Regions from separate parts of the Homo sapiens genome. Here region 1 is linked to region 2. Evidence: promoter capture Hi-C in 16 types of primary human blood cells and fetal thymus (Javierre and others, 2016). All regions are on one chromosome and are shown on one strand. Each heading gives the region's core, a stretch centred on a gene start or on the middle of the fragment in contact. The rest is flanking DNA. Distances are from core to core; before and after follow the strand shown.

Region 1 (7,050 bases), core at 4,069-6,568, 92 kb before region 2:
CTCCAGTTCTAGATCAAGATCTCGCTCTCCTGACAGTTCAGGTTCTCGGTCTCATTCACCGCTCAGATCCAAGCAGAGAGATGTAGCCCAGGCACGTACTCATGCCAACCCTCGTGGTAGACCCAAGATGGGCTCCAGATCAACATCAGAGTCCAGATCAAGGTCACGTTCACGTTCTCGTTCAGCATCAAGCAACAGCAGAAAAGTGAGTATGAGAGAATCCCGGGTGTATTAATGTTCTGTCATATTCCAGTGGTTTTCATTTCAGCCCCTGGAGAGCCTGTCATGATTTCTGAAAGGAATAGGAAAAGCCTCCTTTACTCTCCTTCACTGATTACTTTCTCCTCATTTCAGAATCGTATTTTCAATTAACTGATTCCCGAAATGGGGTTCTTTTTCATTTTGAGTCCCTTGATAGAATGTTGAATTTATGTACTCATCTCCTCCACTAGATGGAAACTTCTTGAGGATGTGGGCATGCCCTTTTACGTGTGTGTCCCAGGATCTAGCATCTAGTTAAAACTTAATAATTTGTTAAATAAGTGGTCAAGGAGACCACTAAATGGGAATAAACACAGACAAAATGGGAGTAAACACAGACAAAAAGGTCCAGAGTATAAAATTTGGTCCATGGAAACTGGAAAACTCAGCAATCTACTGAATATATACCATATACAATAATTTTCCTTGTTATGTGTTTCATTTTGTTTTAGTCTCTGAGCCCTGGAGTCTCCAGGGACAGCAGCACCAGCTATACTGAAACCAAAGATCCCTCTTCTGGTCAGGAGGTTGCAACTCCACCAGTGCCACAACTGCAGGTCTGTGAGCCAAAGGAGAGGACTTCCACCTCCTCATCCTCTGTCCAAGCAAGGCGTCTGAGTCAGCCTGAATCAGCTGAAAAGCATGTGACCCAGAGGTTACAGCCTGAGCGGGTAGGCTATTGTGACCCCTCCCTACACAGAGATGGAGGATTAAGCAAGATCTTCCCTCTTGTCTTTGCTATAAAACTAAAAAGTTAAGTCTGGACAAGGTTCAGTAGAAATGTGGTGGATACCTGTTAATCCTGCTTAACTCATTTCCAGCTCCCTGGTTCGTAGAAGTTCTACATGAGGCTGAGCAGCAGGGTTATCTCCAGGGCCCCCAGGGTCAATTCTTCCTCATAACTCCTCCTTTTATCTGCCAAAAGGAAGTCAGCCTTTTCTCAGTTCTCTCAAAAAAGAATTCTGTCAGAACAAGGATCACTGAGGAAAAGGAAAAAAATTAAAAATTCTGATAAAATGATTACTGGCATAAATATTCTTGAAGTACCTATTTTTAAGCCATGTTCCTTTCCTTATTCTAAAATGAAATAACAGATACAGAGGGCCGTGTGTGGAGCTGGTACTGTGTATGTCCTGCCCTGCCTTTTTCAGGCTCCAGGTAGAAGAAAAGGAACCAAGCAGATCTAAATGTTTTGCTCTGTTCGTTTTTGCTATCTCCTGACAGGGGAGCCCAAAGAAGTGTGAAGCTGAAGAGGCAGAGCCACCAGCTGCCACACAGCCCCAAACCTCAGAGACTCAGACCTCTCATCTGCCAGAATCAGAAAGAATTCATCACACTGTGTAAGTGATATATCTCGACCGGGGTATAACAGGGAACTATGAGTGTGCGATAGTTCTTCGCTCCCTAGGGTTCTTTGACTAAGCAGTCCTAGTTTCCTTTTAAAACATAAAGGCAGAGCTTTATCTGGACAAAGGCTAGACTTCAGTTACTATGTTGGGAGCTGCCACCTTTAAGGTAACCTGAAAAGTGGTCGTCAGGGCACAAGGAAAACTCACCTGGGATCATCCAGCCAAAATAGTCAACTCCTTTAAGATTTAGGCAATAGAAGCTTCTGCTTCCACACTCAAAACCATGTAAGGGAATTGACTCCGGGCATCTTAATCTTTAACTCATGTTTACCTAGGAACCCAGTTTAATAAAGGATATTGAGGGTCTTAATAAAGGCACAGCTGGGTGCTATTTTTTAGTTTGTGCATTTTCCCTAGTTCCCTAGTTACTACCTGTCATTAAGCTATCCTAGTTCTGCTAGGATATCCTAGTTCTTACAGCATACAGTACAGCAAATTATGAAGTTCCTTTCAAGTCAGAAGTTTGTTCCTGGGCCCTTAAGACCATTTGATTGAACTTAAAATTTATACAATTAATGTGAGTTTTTAAAATCTTTATATTAAGTCCTAGAGAAATACTCATATCAGGTTAAATTAGAATTAAATAGGTATGTCATTCATTCTTCTGAGATAGGTATTATAAATTAAGAAGCCAATGAGCCAGAATTCCTGGCTTCAAAGTCTCCTGGGAAATGAAAAAATGAAGCCTTATGGGAATAAGATTGCGTAGCTTTTAGACATCAGGAACCCTGAACTGCTTTGTAGAATGTCCTGTGTAGACTGTTAGCCTAAAGTTATTCTATACTTGTTTTTATGCCATATTAACACTAATGCTACCAGTATGATTTCCCCTATATGTAATTGTCTAATAATTTATACTCTTCTGAGAGCTTCAAACTGTACTTTAACTCTGACTTTTGGAGGGTAGTGGGCAGGTGACATGATTTATCTCATTTGCCTGTGACTTTAATGATAGTTTTATAGACCTTACTATATAGCTTTTACCTGGGGGTATACCCTTGCTGAGGGGTATAATCCTTGTCGATTCTGACAGTCTTACCTCTGCTGCCATCTTGTGGCTGTTAACATTTTTTGTTTGGCAGCCAAAAGTTCACTCTACTTCCTTTGAAATTTTTTGGTTTTTCCCTTCTGGAATGGGTACGCTATCCTTTGGAAAAGGGTTTTTCTTCTGGGACCATAAAGTGAAAACTCAGCGGATTCTGGAAGGTATTCAGGATTCCCCAGCTACATCATCGATGAGGAAATGGGGTGACATTTTCTCTTCCATATCCCTCAACCAGACATAATACCTGCCCCCCTCCTCCCAATTCCATGGAGGTACATTTTACATTCCATTTTACAAAAGCATGTCCTTTGTGAAATGGCAGTTTTGAAGTGGGTATTGACAGCCTGCTACTAATTGGGCCTGAGGAACTGCTTCCGATGCACCTTGGGAAGAAAGTGATTTTCTGAAAAGCTCTTTGCTAGCCTTAAAATTCTGTGGGTTTATGAGATCCTAGCAACAGAAAGGCATTTTATTTTGTTTTGAAGCAGCTTTTTTTCTGGACATTCCCATGCAAGTCCAGGGCACATGAAGCTTGGAGTCATAGAGTTTCCTGTCCCCCCACTCCAGGTAAAGGTGGTTTTGATCTTCATTTTATGACTGAGATAATTTAGTCACATTGATTCTAATAAGATGATAGGCAAGTGGCATCTTGGGCAAATACTTAGATTGTCCATTGTTGCCTAGGCCCGCTTCAGTGGAGTAGTGTATAGAAGGGAAATGCAGTCTTCACTGAGGAGCAGTTCACACACATCACTCGTACCTGCTTTCCTTCTACCTGCCTATCACATGGGTTGTTCAACATTCTAACAAAACAGCATGCCCAGAAGCCTAAACCCATAGGCATTGGATCTGGTAAATAAATCTTTGAGAAGGTTGCATACATTTCTGGAGGCCCTACCACAACTGATTAACAACACCCTTCCTGGTCTCTCACCCCTCCAGAGTGTTAAGTGTGCAGTCTGGCAGCCCTCTAGAGCTCTGGCCAATTTTGAAAGCGTAATCAACAATGCTAAATGGAAAAGACCATTTATGGCATGGCCAGGCGTGGTGACTCATGCCTGTAATTGCAGCACTTTGGGAGGCCAAGGCAGGTGGATCACCTGAGGTCAGGAATTCGAGACCAGCCTGACCAACATGGTGAAACCCCGTCTCTACTAAAAATACAAAATTAGCCGGGCATGGTGTGCACCTGTAATCCCAGTTACTCAGGAGGCTGAGACAGGAGAATCGCCTGAACCCGGGAGGCGGAAGGTGCGGTGAGCTGAGATCACGCCATTGCACTCCAGCCTGGGCAACAAGAGCGAAACTCCGTCTCAAAAAAAAAAAATGGAAAAGACCATTTATGGCCTAACCTTGGTTTTTCTGTCTGTCTCAACAAGAAGTCATATGACTTTAAAAAACAGAGCAGTAAAGTGTTAAAAAAAAAAAAAATTAGACTTCAAGGACCTGTCACCATTTGGAAGAGATTGACTGACTTTTTGCTGTGTTTGGTTAAATCCATTCTGATTCTGATTGTGCCTGAGGAATTCTAAATTTATGAGGTAAGGTGTCTTTTTCATTGCTTGGAGCAGGAATTTGTGGGTCCTCAGTCCTGTTTCAGTTGAGTGCTGTTCAAAACTCTGGTCTTCTGCCTTGTATGGGTATAACAAAAATGTCCCCATATAGCAGAAAATAATGGTATTCTCTTTTTACTTAAAAAAAAAAAAAAAAAAAGGGGAAGAAAGAAAAGAGGGGATTTGTTTGTGTGGGCAGCTGTATCATTCAGCTGTAGTTAATTCAGACCTGGATTTCTCTAGATACAACCTTCCTGTATGCACAGACCTAGCAGGCAATAGCAGTTTTAGGCTCTTGGTACAATGCATGTTTGTCCTTCTGCCTGTGTAGGAGGAAGGTATTGGTTCCTTAAGCCAATATGATGGTGTAATTGATATTCCCCAGGGGACATACAATGCCAATATCCCAAATGATGCATGAAAAAGCAGAATTTGTTGTCATCAATAGAGTTTGCTCCACTGAGAAATTATCTAAGGACATATACCCCAAAATCATACTGTTCTAGGTTATCTTGGGACCAGTATGCTTCTGAGGGTATCTAGTCCCACTGTTTCTTATTAAATTTTCACGTCAGTTTTTCAGCTCCTCGTGAATTTTCTATAATAACTAAAATTTCAGCATATATGCCTATAGGAATTTCCTTTTCCATTAGCTTCTCTGAATCTCATATTCACATATGAGTTGTAATGTGATATTATTAGCCTCCAAGTAGTTGTACCCTTTTCTTCTGGGCTTCTTTGTGTACTGTTTACTTATGGGTAGATATCCCCACTGCTTATTCTGTGCAGTTTCACAGACTGTTAAGCTATGTTGGGCTCTGACACATGGTTAACAAGGTTTTGGTACTAGTCCTGCAAGTAGATAGAGTCCATTTTGGGGACAGTTTCAAGGATTCCTCTTTATCTTTTTTCTTTTTTGGAGACAGAGTCTCACTCTGTCACCCAGGCTGGAGTGCAGTGGCCCGATCTCTGCTCACTGCAACCTCCGCCTCCTGGGTTCAAGCAATTATCATGCCTCAGCCTCCTGAGTATCTGGGACTATAGACGCGGCTGCCACACCCTGCTAATTTTTCTATTTTTAATAGAGATGGGGTTTCACCATGTTGGCCAGGCTGGTCTCAAACTCCTGGCCTCAGGCAGTCCTCCTGTCTCAGCCTCCCAAAGTGTTGGTATTACAGGCGTGAGCCACCATGCCCGGCCCTCATTATTGTCTGAAAATAAAATGTTCGGAATTGTTGGGTCCCACAGAATTGATCATGGGGAAATAGAAAACACACGCCTCTTGTGTCTTAAGAGGGTAAAGGAGAACGTGGTAAGATTCTTATTCTTAAAAAAAAGAAATTTTCGGCCGGGCATGATGGCTCACGCCTGTGATCCCAGCACTTTGGGAGGCCGAGACGCGCGAATCACAAGGTCAGAAGATCGAGACCATCCTAGCTGACACAGTGAAACCCCGTTTCTACTAAAAATACAAAAAATTAGCCGGGTGTAATGGAGGGTGCCTGTAGTCCCAGCTGCTCGGGAGGCTGAGGCAGGAGAATGGTGTGAACCCCGGAGGCGGAGCTTGCAGTGAGCTGAGATTGTGCCACTGCACTCCAGCCTGGGCAACAGAGTGAGACTCCGTCTCAAAAAAAAAAAAAAAAAGGAATTTTCAATAACAAAATTTCTCAAAATCAGCCACTTCTGCAGAGGCATATTAGCAGCTGAGAGTATTTTAGGACAGTGGATAAACAGAGCATTTTATTTGAGGATGGCTGAAGGTAACATTTTCTGTGGTGTAACATTGTTTGTGGGGATTCTATTAAAAAAATTTTTTTCTTTTTTTGAGATGGAGTTTTGCTCTTGTTGCCCAGGCTGGAGTGCAATGGCACGATCTCGGCTCACCACAACCTCTGCATCCTGGGTTCAAGTGATTCTCCTGCCTCAGCCTCCCGAGTAGCTGGGATTACAGGCATGCACCACCACGCCCAGCCAATTTTGTGTTTTTAGTAGAGACAGGGTTTCTCCATGTTGGTCAGGCTGGTGATCCGCCCACCTCAGCCTCCCAAAGTGCTGGGATTACAGGCGTGAGCCACCATGCCCAGCCAAAAAATTTTTTTTTCAATAAGAAAACTTTTAGGTTAGCAAGCATTTAGTAAGTGTCCACTTGGTACCCACAATGACACCCTAATTCAGAAATAGTTAGGGAACATTACTTTGTGTTAGGCCCTGGGCTAGGGGCCAAGAGATGCAATCCCTACCCTTGAGGAATTATGCAGGGTAGAGATGGGGGGCAGATAAAGTAGCAGTTATTATACAGAGTGATAAGGGCATTGCTGAAAACCTGTCATGCCAATCACTGAATGGCTTTGCCTCAGAAAACAAGCAGTCTACTCTTTTGAGGAAACTCAGAGCCCCAGAGGTGGCATCAGATGAGATAATGGCCTATTAAGTGTGCATGTATTTTACATGTATCTGTACCTTCACTTGGGGTGTCCTCCAAGCCAGACTCTTAAGAGCTAACACTTAACTACACTGTTCCATGAAATAGGTATTGTCACTATGCCCACTTTGCAGATTACAAGACAGATATACAGAACCAGGAACTTGCCTACTATCACACAACTTTTAACAGAGTGGGGCTAGCCAGTCTGACTCCAGAGTCTTCACTCTTAACCCTGAGCAGACAGGGACCACTATGTGAAAGGAAACATTTAAAGTAATGTATAAATATGGCCACTTTAGCATGCAGTTGGCATTGTAAGTGTAAGATTTTAAGCAGCGGGGAGAAAATTTCATTCCT
Region 2 (7,122 bases), core at 2,356-4,855:
AAGGAAAGGGGAGGCTAAGAGAGTGTTCCAAACAGGGAACTGCAGGTACAAAAGTCCAGGGGCAAGAGAGAGTACAGACAAGGTCCAGTTCTACTGCAGACTTTTGGGGAAGGGATAATGCTAGAGGAGAGGCTGGAGAGTGAGACAGACCTCATAATACAGAGTACAGACTTCAACCCAAGGGCAGTGAGAAATCATTGAAAGTTTGTTTTAGCAGGGAAATAAAACGACAGGTTTTGCCTACAGGCAGTCCCCAACTCAACGATGGTTCGACTTAGGATTTTTCAACTTTACGATGGTGCGAAATGATTCAGTATGCTCCTCACCTTATGATGCAGTTATATCAGATAAACCCATTTTAAGCTGAAAATATGGTGAAGTTGAAGAAGCACTTCTGCCTTACGATATTTTCAATTTATAATGGATGGGTTTATTCAGACATAACTCCATTGTAAGTCGTAAAGCTTCTGTACTGAAAAAAATCACTTGACCTCAGGGTATAAGATGGATTGCAGGGAGCAAGCCTTGGCCAGGAGACTTTTGCATTGGTTTCGGAGAGGAAAGACGGTGACTTGACATATATAGTGGTGATGAGGGGAGGACAGATTTGGAAGATGTTTAGGAAGCAGAATTAATAGAACTTGGTGATTGATAGGACTTGGTTGGATTTGAGGTTAAGGGAGAAGGAGGACATAGGGTTGACGCTCAGATTTCTAGTTTAAGCAGCTAACAGGATTGTGCCATTTACTCAGAGAATGTTAGAGGAGCCAGTTTCATGAGGCAGAGAAGATGAGATCAGTTTAGGATATTGGGTGCTTCTGAGACAGCCATTGGAGATGCTAGTAGTTAGTTGAGTTTTTAATTCCAAGAAAGACTGGGCTGGAAATATGGATTAGGGAGTCACCTGCATATACAGATTATAATTAAAGTCTTGGGAACGAAGAGGGCCTTTGGAGATCCCAGCTCCAGTTTAGACTGTGGAGAGGCCACCTGAGGTCATGAGCACTATTGGAGCATGCCCTATTAGCATATGCGTCTTCTACTTCTTCCCCTTCACTCATCTCTGCTTCCAGTTATCCCTTGAAAACACAGGCTGTTCATCCCAGTTGTGCCCATTGCTACCACCAACTCTTGCATGGGCCTCCTTTAATGGCCTCCCAACATTTCATAAGATTTCCTCTCGCATCCTCACCCCAAAGGATCAAAGCTTCCAAATATTAGTAGTTGTGTGGATATTTTGGATGTAATTGGAAGGAAGAATCAAAGTTCTCCTTCCTCATCTGGACACAGGAAAGGAGGGAACACATTATGGTTAATTCTGAAGATGTTGCTCACAGCAGGTTCTAGATGCAATCCGATAGCTCCCCTCTGTTCCTAGTGCTTTCAGTCCTCCCTGCTTCCACTCTGGTAGGAAACTCTCCTCAGGATCAGAGAAAAGCCGTGGCCTTGACCAGGGAAACAGAGGCTGATTCTCAGGGGAGATGAGGTCAGGGAGACAATGCAACTAGGACGAAGAAGCCAAATAGTTTGGCACAAATTAATTTCCCAAAAGATATTAACCTCGTTTCTTTCCACATTCCCTAAGGCTACACTAAGATTATAAAAGGTGTTCAAAATGTTGAGATGAAAATAATATGCATGACTTGTTTGCATATAATTTTCATACTCATTTACTATCTAAATACAAAGGAGTCATTTTCCTTCTCCATTCTACTTCCTCCACCCCTTGCCCCTGATGTTTTAGTCTGGGCAAAAGTAGTTGGCTGGTTTTTAAAAAATTTTTTTGAGACGGAATCTCCCTCTATCGCCCAGGCCTGAGTGCAATGGCACAATCTCGGCTCTCTGCAACCTCCGCCTCCTGGGTTCACGCGATTCTTCTGCCTCAGCCTCCCAAGTAGCTGGGACTACAGGTGCACGCCACCACACCGGCTAATTTTTGTATTCTTAGTAGAGACGGGGTTTCACCATACTGGCCAGGCTGGTTGCAAACTCCTGACCTCGTGATCCCGCCGCCTCTGCCTTCCAAAGTGCTGGGATTACAGGCGTGAGCCACCGCTCCCGGCCGTTGGCTGGTATTTAATTAGGTATGTTTAGCTTCATCTAGGGTTTCTTTAAAAAAAATTATTATTTATTTTTGAGAATTTTTTTGAGACGGAGTCTTGCTCTGTCGCCCAGGCTGGAGTGCAGTGGCCGTGATATTGGCTCACTGCAACCTCTGTCTCCCGGGTTCAAGCGATTCTCCCGCCTCAGCCTCTCGAGTGGCTGGGACTATAGGCGTGCGCCACCACGCCTGGCTAATTTTTGTATTTTTAGTAGAGATAGGGCTTCACCATGTTGGCCAGGCTGGTCTGAACTCTTGACTTCAAGTGATCCGCCCGCCTCAGCCTCCCAAAGTGGTGGGATTACAGGCGTGAGCCACCGCGCCCGGCTGCTTCAGCCAGGGTTTCTTTTCCTTATTCTTGATCCTTTTAAAATAGTCAATATCAGCCTCTTTTCCATCCTGATCATTTTCATTTGCAATTTCCTCTACACGGCATTTCTTTTCTTCCTCTTAATACTTACTCTGTATCACCAGTCTTCTGTGGACCAAAACCAAAGGGAGAAGGTGTTCGCTAGCCCTAAAACCAGGCCTTCGATCTCCACAGTCACCTGAAATGAGAAAAATCTCATTTCCCAACACCAGGGGGTGTCTATCCCTCTAACTGTCCTACCCTTAAGGTAGAGATTAGTCCCAAACCTTTTCCTCACTCCTTTTCACTGCTTCTACATACACACTATATCTCTTTCCCTCCCTCTCAAAGTAGAGATTAGTCCCATTTTCCTGACTCCTTTTCACTGCTTTTACAAATCACAAAACTTTTGGGTCCAGAAGGTGGTGCCTTTTTATTGCAGTTTATCTGTTTGTCTCTCATTCTCTCTGGACAAGCTTGTCCTTTCCTTTGTCTGCGCACCCTTCGGTCTCTGCATCGTCCACACTCCTCTTTGCTCCTCAGCTCTCCCTTTCTTTCGCTACCTCTTCCCTCTTCCACCTCTCTCTGTGGGCTTCGTCGCCTTTCAGGGCTATCTTTACGTACACGTCTCTGAACCTCTTTATGCATTTGTCTTCTTTCTCTCTGTCTTCCTCTTTATGGCTCTCTCCTTGTCTCACCATTTCTGTACCAGTCTCTCTCCATCTCTCCCACAGTCCCCACGCTGGGAACAAAGTCACGGTGCTAGCGCAGAACATGCCTCCTGTCGTCCGGTCCCGGGACGCGACACATTCCACCATGCCCCTCCGCGCATTCCAACTGCAGACAAAGAGTCCCCGTCCCCTACCCCCACACTCTTTCCTATTCCAATTCTTCAGTGTTGTAGGGGCAGCTGCCCCAACTGCCCCTGCCCGCCTCTCACGTCCAGTCCGCGGGTCTCCACATCCAGGGCAGTTAGCGCCTTCCGCTGCACGCACACCAGCTATCCCTGCGCGGACACCCCCGGCGCTCTCGCACACACCGCGCTCCGCCCCCCTAGGAAAGTAGATCCGGCCAGGCAGACAAAAGTTTGGGAGAGAAGTTCGGTCTGTGGCTAGCGTGAGAGCTAGGGGGGCGGGGGCCGGGGAGAGTGGGGCAGTCGGGCGAGTCGACGCGTGAACAGATAGACCTGCGGACTGGACAGCCGCGGCCAGAGACCCTGCTAGCCCCGCTCAGCCCCAGATGCGCGGGGGGACGCAGCCCCTCCCGCTGGGGGATGCTGTGGGATTCCTGGCGCAGGGCATCCAGGCCGCCCGCTAAGCCCCTGTGCCTCCCCTGTGCCCCTGGGGAACCAGAGTCCGGCTGCAGGGAAAGAGAACCGGCCGCCGAGACGCCGCAGGGTGCCAGGCGGGGAGGGGGCGAGAGGCCCCAGGCCCGAGGGCATGGAGCGGTTAGGAGAGAAAGCCAGTCGCCTGCTGGAGAAGTTCGGCCGCAGAAAGGGTGAATCTAGCCGGTCTGGGTCTGACGGGACCCCCGGGCCGGGCAAGGGGCGCCTAAGTGGGTTGGGGGGACCTAGGAAGTCAGGGCCCCGAGGAGCTACTGGGGGACCTGGGGATGAGCCGTTGGAGCCGGCCCGGGAGCAAGGTTCCCTGGACGCTGAGCGAAATCAGCGCGGCTCCTTTGAGGCGCCGCGCTACGAAGGCTCTTTTCCCGCGGGGCCGCCGCCCACCCGGGCCTTGCCTCTACCTCAGTCGTTGCCCCCCGATTTTCGGCTGGAGCCCACGGCCCCGGCCCTCAGCCCCCGCTCTAGCTTCGCCAGTAGCTCGGCCAGCGACGCGAGCAAGCCGTCCAGCCCCCGGGGCAGCCTGCTGCTGGACGGGGCGGGGGCTGGCGGAGCTGGAGGTAGCCGGCCCTGCAGCAATCGCACCAGCGGCATCAGCATGGGCTACGACCAGCGCCACGGGAGCCCCTTGCCAGCGGGGCCGTGCCTGTTTGGCCCACCCCTGGCCGGAGCACCGGCAGGCTATTCTCCCGGAGGGGTCCCGTCCGCCTACCCGGAGCTCCACGCCGCCCTGGACCGATTGTACGCTCAGCGGCCCGCGGGGTTCGGCTGCCAGGAAAGCCGCCACTCGTATCCCCCGGCCCTGGGCAGCCCTGGAGCTCTAGCCGGGGCCGGAGTGGGAGCGGCGGGGCCCTTGGAGAGACGGGGGGCGCAACCCGGACGACACTCTGTGACCGGCTACGGGGACTGCGCCGTGGGCGCCCGGTACCAGGACGAGCTAACAGCTTTGCTTCGCCTGACGGTGGGCACCGGTGGGCGAGAAGCCGGAGCCCGCGGAGAACCCTCGGGGATTGAGCCGTCGGGTCTGGAGGAGCCACCAGGTCCTTTCGTTCCGGAGGCCGCCCGGGCCCGGATGCGGGAGCCAGAGGCCAGGGAGGACTACTTCGGTGAGTGAGAGAAGTGGTTAGGGACGGGAAGGGACCCGTCACGGTATTCGGTTCTCCACTGCCCCGACGGCCCAAAGTGCCGGTGCCCCGGGGTCCGAGGTGAAGACGCGGGACTAGGAAAGAAGCAAGAGGGATGGATGGGGGCGGCCCCAGAGCACTGTCCCCTTCCTGCTAGTTTTCAGATGAACCAGGGCTCCTTATTTCTGCTAAATTCAACCCCCCTGGTATCTCGTGAGTCCGTTTCTCAAGCATTTGAACCTCGGTTTTTTGCGGCAGGAGGCCTCGTAGGGAAGGGACCAAGTGGGGCAGTGAAGGCGCATCCCCCCCAACTTGCTCCCCCCTTTCACGGCGGTGCCCCTGGAGGTTTGTGCGCGCCGCGCCCCCACCCGGGCCCAGGCTCCGCCCGCAGGAATTCGGAGAATGCGCGGGTGGGGGGGCGGGGCAGGCTGGCCGCGTGCGTGCCGACTCCTGCCCGGGCGCTCCAGGTGCCCGCGGGCGGGGCGGCTGCCGCCGCGCGGCGGAGGGGTGGGGTTCGGGGATCGGGGGACGCTCCCTAGCATACGCGGAGTAGTGGCGGCTGTCGGGGAAATGGAGCCTGGGAGACAGGATGGAGCGCCCTGGGACCCAACTGCTGTCCCTCCCCAGTCCTGTTGGCTAGGTGCGTGCGTGGGCATTTAATCAGAGACCCAGTAGTACCAGCTTCTATTTTCCCCATCCTCCGGAAGTCAGGGTAAAAGTCATGACTACTGGGACACCATTACCTCTGGATGGATAACGACCCTGTGTTATTGCCAGAAATAACTTGGCCTTGAATTCTGCTTATAACCTCTCAGAATTCAGGCCAGAAGTAGCGCCTTACTTCCTGACACTGTTAAGGAAACCTGGTCGCTGTCTCCCTCCCCTACTCTGTTCAGGAAGTATTGATTGATTATATGTCTCAGCTATGAGGAACATTAGGGTCTTGAAAGATCTTTTAGTCAAAATTCACAGGCACTGCTACACACATAAAAAACTTCGAATCTGATTGTGATTGGAAAGAAGTGGCAGGCTTACCGCCTAAGGGCTGTGGGCCTCTTTCACTTTTCTAAGCATCTCTTCTTACCACTCATGCCCCACTCCTGGACCCCATGCTGTAGAACTCTATGGCTAGAAAAGTGAATAGGAAGAGGAACGCGGCCAGGGAGGGATGGTTGGGTAGGAGGTTCAGAGGTAGCAGGGCGGCAGGCTATAAGGGCATAACTCAACCCCCAGCCTCCACCCCCATTCTTTTCCCCACCTCCAAATCCACCGAGAGGAAAGCCCAGAGGAGATGATGCCAAACCGCTTTGATCAAGGAAGACTGAATGACAGGGCCCATTTAGCAGTTTCATTTTGAGGCCCAGGAGAGGTGGCTAGTAAAGAAGTCTTTTTGGCTGAACCATCAGAGCCAAAAGGAAGAAAGGAACTCAGAGAAACTGCAATAAAATGGCAGGAAGAACATAGGTATAGATATGCTGGGTTAGAGGAGGTGAGGCCAACGTGCCTGAGCAGTTTCGTTTGCTTTTCCCATAACGTCCAAGGTTTCCTAAAGAATGGCTCCGACAGGACCCCCTGGCATGGCAATCTTGGGGCAGATCTTCACTTCCATGAGGAAGCCACATTTTGAATTCAGAGATGGGGGCCCCTTCTCCTTGGGAGTCAGGTTGCCTCCTTTGACAGAACCCCTACATACCCCTTGTGCCGCTAGCCCCAGCTTGACTGTACCCTCCTCCTGCCCCTAGTAGGGGCCCTCTTCCTTGGCTTCAGCCTTGCCCAGCTGCCAGAGGGTGGGAGCAGGACAGGCCTGGGCCCATCAGTTGCTGCAGCTGCTGCACAGGCTCCCAAGCCCCTGGGCAAAGACTGGGATGGGCCCCAACAGGCAGGGAGTGTGGCAGCGTGCCGAGGGGGAGAGGTGGGGCAGGCCCGTTGGGATCTGCTCCCCAAAGACAGGCCCTAGCCCTCACTCATGGGCCTGGAATTGGGGAGTGGAGGGAGGGAAGAACACACCCAGGAAAGGCAAGTCCCAGAGCCAGGTGTATATATCTTAGTGGGGGATTTTGGGGAATAGCAAGCAGTTCAGTTCTGTATTCTTCCCATGATAGAAGGTGACTAGGAGGCATCAGGGGCTCTGCTACTCTCCCTGCTTTCCTGTTCAACCCTGGTTCCTGGAACACACCCTGCATTCTCAGCAGCCACCTCCCCACAGGAA

The links. Contacts are between HindIII fragments. The CHiCAGO score rates a contact against its expected background, and 5 or more counts as called.
Region 1: a fragment that was not itself captured here is called in contact with the fragment with the promoter of AJUBA in region 2 in 1 of 17 cell types (erythroblasts); the score reaches 5.5 in erythroblasts.

Annotation. Positions count from the first base shown.
Region 1 is chr14:23,072,702-23,079,751 of GRCh38, reverse strand. ACIN1 (apoptotic chromatin condensation inducer 1) reads left to right here. Exons shown (of 19, transcript NM_001386863.1): 6 at 1-205; 7 at 714-932; 8 at 1,486-1,601. LOC124903288 (a long non-coding RNA gene) reads right to left here and starts at 1,486. Exons shown (of 2, transcript XR_007064077.1): 1 at 1,055-1,486; 2 at 1-292. RefSeq lists an enhancer at 161-1,360. The HindIII fragment of the contact is 4,139 bases long and covers 3,249-7,050 here.
Region 2 is chr14:22,979,034-22,986,155 of GRCh38, reverse strand. It overlaps AJUBA (ajuba LIM protein), which reads left to right and starts at 3,605. Exons shown (of 8, transcript NM_032876.6): 1 at 3,605-4,895. The coding sequence starts at 3,890. C14orf93 (chromosome 14 open reading frame 93) reads left to right here. Exons shown (of 7, transcript NM_021944.4): 7 at 1-262. It overlaps AJUBA-DT (AJUBA divergent transcript), which reads right to left and starts at 1,832. Exons shown (of 3, transcript XR_007064074.1): 1 at 1,336-1,832. LOC124903287 (a long non-coding RNA gene) reads right to left here. Exons shown (of 2, transcript XR_007064076.1): 2 at 6,935-7,122. RefSeq lists enhancers at 2,625-3,590, 3,591-4,556. The HindIII fragment of the contact is 4,726 bases long and covers 2,929-7,122 here.